Linked DNA regions of Homo sapiens: region 1 is linked to region 2. The links are contacts of gene promoters, found by promoter capture Hi-C in human tissues and cell types (Jung and others, 2019). All regions are on one chromosome and are shown on one strand. The core of a region is centred on a gene start or on the middle of the fragment in contact, and the rest is flanking DNA. Distances in the headings are between cores, read along the strand shown. Region 1 has its middle 40 kb from the start of HEPHL1. Region 2 holds the start of HEPHL1 (hephaestin like 1).

The links. The method cuts DNA at HindIII sites, captures the fragments that hold promoters and counts their contacts. A contact is called where the count stands out against the background at its distance.
Region 1: a contact is called between a fragment that was not itself captured here and the fragment with the promoter of HEPHL1 in region 2, in 3 of the 25 tissues and cell types used here (bladder, liver and neural progenitor cells).

The regions. Positions count from the first base shown.
Region 1 is chr11:93,979,834-93,983,491 of GRCh38, reverse strand. No RefSeq gene overlaps it. Among named protein-coding and RNA genes, the nearest start is that of HEPHL1, 40 kb to the left of the region's middle. The HindIII fragment of the contact is 3,424 bases long and covers 1-3,312 here.
Region 2 is chr11:94,019,606-94,023,060 of GRCh38, reverse strand. It overlaps HEPHL1 (hephaestin like 1), which reads right to left and starts at 1,707. Exons shown (of 20, transcript NM_001098672.2): 1 at 1,523-1,707. The coding sequence starts at 1,692. The HindIII fragment of the contact is 8,979 bases long and covers 1-3,455 here.

The sequences.
Region 1 (3,658 bases), core at 351-2,850, 39 kb after region 2:
ATTTAATACAAGGAATTGGTTATACGAAAGATGAAAGAGCTTGGAAACCAACCATGAGATGGTTGAGGCAGCCCGGTGATTAGCAACAGAATACTGTTCCCTCCCTACACCCTGATAGACAACAGGAGAAGGTGGTGTTGTCAGAACTAAAACACAAGCATGGTCTGGCTGGAGCTACAACCATAGTGGGAGCTGCCAGTCAGAGTTGGGATCACAAAGTGAGAGGTAATCTTGCAGAAGTTGGGGCCCAGAGGAGACATCCACTGCCAGAAGTGCCACCCAAAGCTAATCAGGAGAGGCAGAAATATCTTGGCCAATGCATCCTACTGGGCTTGACACCCAGAAGCCAGTCGACAAGATATTTGGGGAAATGTAGTTCTCTACAATATGTAAAAGGGCAAGGGGAAGGTAAAGTATGGTAAAGTGAACAAAGAATTTGTCTCTCCAGCCTGTTACCACAGCAGTGTTACTATTCTTATTATAATAATATATGCGGCATGCTTACAATTGGCCCCCTGGATTGACCCCTGGCTCAATAGTGCCACAAAGATTGTTCAACTTTTGCTTGGCTATTTCCTCAGTGTACCTTTGTCTGTGCTTGTCCAGTTACCCTCCTGTGCCAATGGAAGCAAACCTGTGGAATGCCCATACACCCTAAAATCTCCAGCATACAGGCAAAAATAACAACTAGCCACAAGAAGGTGCAAAGAATGCTTTAGCCTAAGCTTTAATACTTGACAAATATGTTAGCCTCAGCAAGTTATTTAAATAGCAGTCGACCCACCAGTAGAATGGGGCTTAACAAATACTCCCATATTACTGTGAGAAGAAATTGAGATAAATTATGTAAAGAACCTAATGCATACTCTATACACAATATATGATTATTATTATCATTATTCACTCATTCACACACATGCATGTGCTTCATTATTTATTAATAGAAATAATAAACTACTATGTCTGGCTCTCTGCTGATTTGCCTAGATTTTTTTTTAAAAGCCTTCAACCAGGTGCAGTAGCTTACACCTGTAATCCCAGCATTTTGGGAGGCTGGGGTGGGAGGATTTCTTTAGCCTAGGAGTCAGAGGCAGCCTAGGCAACACAATGAGACCCTGTCTCTATTAAAAAAAAAAAAACTTTCTATGTTCATTTCAGAAACTAATCCTAAAATATGTGCCTAACTCTAGTCCAGGGTAGGTATTGTGAGTAAAGTCATGAACAAAAGACAAAATCTCATCCTCCTGAAGCTTATATTTTAGTGAATGTTAATGCATCTTTTGGTCACATGAAAAAAAACGAGTTGAAGTTTTCTAGCAGGCACTTTTCAGCCCTGAAATACATAATTTTTACTTCAGTTTCACTCAAAATACAGCAGAATAACCAACATTTACAAATGTTCAACACTAGACATAAATTAATCCATGAGTTTCATATCACTGGTCACAGACCACATTAACGTAAATGGCACTTGCCAAGGCAATTGTAGCAAGAATTTTTTCATCAGATAAGAAAATTGCAACAGACAGCCTCAAAAATTCCTCCTAAATAATTTACAAGACATATAAGCTAGGCTTGAAAGCTCTTTAAGATCTGTCTTGCCTCACCATCGTATTCCCAACACCCAGCATAGTGCCTGGCATTCAACAGGTACCTACTAAATATTAATACTTGTTAAATAAATGACAGATGGCTCTATGATTTTGGATTTATGATTCCATTACCTGGTACATGAGCCTTATTATAGCACCTACCACATTGTGTTACAGCTGTTATTTATTCTGCCTGTTATCCACACTCATTTCTGACCTCCCCAAGGTCTGGGGCTGCTTTTTGCCTCTCTGCTACCCAGCTCTGCACACAGCAAAAAGCCAATACTAAAAAACTGTCAAAGGGAGGGAGGGACAATATATGAACAAATTAATGAATTATTTGAGCCAAAATATTATGATTTATGAACATATAAACTACACACCTCTTGTTAGAGACTCATTAAAAAAAATCAAGACATAAGGGATAAAGACCCATCAGCAAAGTGGCAGAAGAGATTCTAGGACTACAGGAGAAAACTGGTTATGGAAATAACTGCTAACATTTCCGAGGGGACACTGTATCTTAAATCAATCAGAATAGAGTAGAAACTTACTATGTCCAAATCCCCTTGGTAAGTGCTGAGAGGTGACAACTAGAACTTTCCAGAACTTACAGTCTAGATCATTAGCTCTGTCCCTCAAGAGAACCCTGACAAATACACTGAGAAAGGAGTTAGAGGGCCCTTCTGCAGGGTCAGGAGCTTACTGTCGTCCTCTCATAGAGCAGTGGTCAAGGCTCTCTGCAGAAATAATAGGATAAGATCAGAAGTTCTCCAATTTCTATAAAGCTGTGAGACAATTTTATGCATTTATTGCAGAAATTAATCATAATGCAAAGGAGGAAGAAACAGGGTAGTAATGTAAGAAGGACTAGAAGAGGCAAAAAGGAGAGAACATACAACTCAAGCTCCGTTTGGCCTGCTTTTCTGAAACTGCACAACGTTCTCTAATTTAGGGCCCTTCAGAGTCAGGCAGAAACTCTGAAATCAAATATACTTTCATACCTGCTCTGCAATCAGATGCTGACAATGACTAGAAGATAAACATGGATTTGTAAATTCAGACACATATGAACAAACTAGTGTGTTCTGAGAAGGCTGAAAAGAATTCAAGAGTTAAGTTGAAATGGTTTCCTTAGGTTAGTTAGTATCTTACAAGCATTTCAAGTGCTGTGCTCGGTAAAGATTAAAACACTGTGAGCAGAACTGTGTCTGTGTCTTCAGGAAACTTATAACCTTTTAAGACACAAAAGACTGTCTTTATTCTCTCTCTGACTGAATTTACTCCCTCTGCTCTTGAGTGCATCAAGATAGGCATAATTCTGATTGGAAACTTCCTCCATTTAAGCACTTATTCCTGGCTAACACCCCAAAACAAGCTTCTAAATCTGAGTGTTCAGTATGGTGACCACTGGCCACATGAGGCTAGATGAGCTCTTAAAATATGGCTAGTATAATGGAGAAACTGAATTTTTGTCTCTAATTAATTTAAATTTAATAACTGATACTCAATTCAATTATTGGGAAATGTTCCGGTATGTTTGATACAACCTAAGTATGTGAATCTGCTTTTTCAACTGTAAATTTTATAAATTTTATCTAAACACATATCAAGCATTTCCATCAAAAATTTAAAATCCAAGTTGAGATGTGTTGTAAGTATAAATACACACTGGAATTCAAAGACTTCCTATGAAATCATGTTAAATATTTTATTAATAATTTGTATATTGATTACATGTTTAACTTTTATTTTTAATCATTGGGATAAAACTGGGATATGATAACAAATATGTTATTTAAATGAACTTCATTTTTTCTCTTTGACTATTTCAACTTTTATTATAAGAAAATCTATAATTATACATGTGGCCTGCATTATATTTCTATTGGACAGCACTGCTCTAAAATGATCACAACTTCCAAATTGGTCTCCAAACTCCAGTATTCCCAAGTTTTGCTCTTTTTTCTTTCTGTGCCAGGAAGATCCTTCTTAACCTCTATTTTTCACGTGGCAGTTTTCCACTTAGTGCCTCCCAGTTACCTGTTGTAACCCATCTAAGCTTC
Region 2 (3,455 bases), core at 458-2,957:
AAAAATCCCTCATAGAATTTTTGGGTCAGAATAAATGCCCATACACAGCTATAGTGACGTGGGCATTTTAGGAAGAAGAATTTCTGTGGGTGTTAATCTTATGGAAAGGCAATCCAGTATCACATTTAGCTTAAACGCTATATTCATTACACTCAGTGTACACACTTTCAACATTCTTATCCCCAGTAGCTGCTCACATTGACTGTTTCCTACTGAGCCCTCTCTGAGAATAGCAGAGCTCTATTTGTAGAGAAGGCTCCTGGCATTTTTGGTACCCTTTCAATCCCATAGCTATTCATCACAGTAAAGACACTACCACCAATGGTCAGCAGATGTGGGATTGAAAGCAATCAAGAGTTTCCTTTGGAAATAGCCCTGCAGACATTACATTTCCAGGTACAAAGCTTAAGGAAAAGTCTGCCTTGGCAGCTTGTCTGGCACAGGCTTCATCTTTGGTAAACAAAACATGACTATACCACCTTTGTTTTGTTAGAAAACTTGGAAGCTGTATTTCCAAGCCAACTGGATCTTTGGTCTTTCCTCAAAGACAAGGGGCCCTGGCTCTTAAAGACTTGCTGGTAGGCCCTGTGCTGTTCCTGAATTTTATCAACTAAACTCATCTTTAGGAAATGGAACATGGATGCAGAATGCAACTGGTTCTGCCTGTCAGAAAAGAAGCAAGCATTCAAATATCCAACAGAGGTTGCCAAAACATCTGAAAAGATGTTCTAATAACCACAAAGTTGAAAATAGCATGACATCTTCTGGAGTCAGGAGGTGACTTCAGAGGGAGATCCATGAAACAAATTAGATGGTTAAGATACTAGGCCCTGGAGGGGGCAGGGAGAAAGGGTTATTTTCTGCCCCAAATTAAAAATCAGGAACATAGAACACCGTGGCGCCATCTCACCTAGCTATGCTATAGGTTCTGGGATAAGATATTGCCCTCAGCAAGAATGACTTGGAGCTGGAATAAACTTTTTACCAGTGAAAGCGCTAATTCTAAGTAGACTCAAGGAAACCCTGAAAATAGCAGGCAAATCTCCTGTGACTTCCCCCTCTTTTAAACGTTGAAAAACATGACTTAGCATACTTATCTCCCATTATGATGTTTCATTCCAGAAATACAAACTAAGAAAACACTGTGTTTTAACCATAAGGAATTCTTGAAATTTCTCAAATCTTCATCCCAAGTGTTGTCATTTAAAAACAAACAAACAAACAGAATCCCCCAGAAGTTACTAGTAGTACCTGGTGGAAATTGTCAAACACCTGGTTGTGTATATGTCCCTTCACAGGCAAGGCTATTAATAGGTGGCTCAACAAATACATGGAGCTATGAATATCTCTTCCAGATTACACACCCATCCATACTAGGGCTCTTCAAGCAAAAAACAAAACACCTTCTCTTGGTCTAGATCAACTCACCCCCATTGTAAGTACCCAAGAAATACAACCTTCCCCACACAAAGTCAAAAAGAGGCCAAACCTGGGAGTCAATGAGGACCCTAAGTTCACTCACTTGTCTTCTGTGAAACTTTTCCCAGTAATAACATTCTTCCCTTGGGGTACATAGTTCCAGTATTCTTCCACAATCCCAATGTAGTACGTTCTGGTAACTGTGCCAACCAGCCCAGACAGACCCAGGAATGTGAGGAGAAAGATGCAGCCAGCTGGCTGCTTCCGAGGCATTTGTGGATGTAACTCAAGCAGGCAGGCAGCCTGCACAGGGGACAAATCTGTTGGTCCCTCCCCCTCACTCAGCTCCTCCTCCTCAGGTAGCTTGGGTTTGGGGAAGAGGCAAAGGCTGAGGCCTTGCGTAAGCAAAGCAAGCTCGATGGGGGCGTTGCTTTGACAACAAAACTTTTGCCAGCCATCCGAGAAATGTGTGACTGGCTCATTTATGTATTGCCCAAGCCAACAGGCCTGTTTCTATACGTTTCGGTACCATGCTCTGACATCAGTCATTTGTCAGCCAGGATGACAGTGTGACTACTTGAGCCGATGGCTTTCCCCCACCCCTTCTTCTTCTTTTCTTCTCCACACCTCTTACATTAAAATCTGAAAAGTGAGCTGGCCTGAGTGGAGCATCAGGAAACACTCCAGGCACTAAAGAAGGCCTCCTCTCTGTCGGGAGGGCAGAGGAAGTGACATAATCACCATCCAGCTTGTTTTATGAGGCTATGTGAAACCACAAACTAACATCATAAAGTTCATCACAACAACATAAAACCCCACTAATCCTCCACTGGCTCGTGTACCATCTCCCCCATATTCTCTCAAATCCTTCCAGCAAAAATGAGAAGGTTGACTGCTCAGTTCAGCCAAAATGTTCGCGGCCACCACCTCCACACAGGGAGCCGCCTTTCTTAGGATGAATGAAAATGATGATGGGGAAGTACCCTTCAGACACATGGAGACAAAATTCAGTAACAGGTCTTTGGGTGGAAAAGGCTGGGCCATTCTTCTGTGTCTTCTAATCTGTGTCCCAGAATCTCGGTATTGAAAGAGACCTTGATCAACCTTGGAAAAGAGTTACTCTTATCCCCATGCACAGTTACTCTTGAGGGAGCAGCCATGGAATGAAGGAAACAGCCTCCTGGCCTTTGAAGTTGGTCAGACCTGGGTTTGAATGTGAGTTCCCACCACTTTCCAATTTAGTGGCATGGAGGAATCACTTAACATCATTGAGCTGGAGACTATAGAAGAAGGATTGAGGGATTCTTAAGGAACTTTTTAAAAGATGATGTCTGCAAAGTGCTTACCCCAGCCCCTAGCATAGGGTAGGTACTAAGTAAGTGTTAAAGTCCTTCCTGCCCATTCATGCCCTCTAAGAGAGACTGTATCAACCTGTGTATCCACAGACTTGTGTTTCCCCGCAGTCTTCAACTTTCTTTCCACTATTCTTTGCCAAAGTCCTATCTGCCATGCCTTCCACCAGTCTCAAGTAAGAGAATTCTTTTTCTTTAAATGGTAGCTACCCTATAAATGTCCCATAGCACAGTTTGTATTAGCATTCATCTTAATTAATAAAAGGCCAGGCACGGTGGCTCAGGTCTGTAATCCCAGCAATTTGGGAGGCCAAGGCAGTCAGATCACCTGTGGTCACGAGTTTGAGACCAGCCTGGCCAACATGGTGAAACCCTGTCTGTACTAAAAATACAAAAATTAGCCGGGCGTAGTGGCAGGCGCCTGTAATCCCAGTTACTTGGGAGGCTTAGGCAGAAGAATCGCTTGAACCTGGGAGGTGGAGGTTGCAGTGAGCCAAGATTGTGCCACTGCACTCCAGCCTGGGCAACAAGAGCAAGATTCCTTCTCAAAATAAGTAAATAAATAAATAAATAAATAATAAAATACATACTGAGTATCCTGTTTCATAGCCAGGCTCTTTACAACTTTGATTTACTGATTTGTTTGTTGTATCAAGGACACTGGTAGAATAATTGCCACAGCAC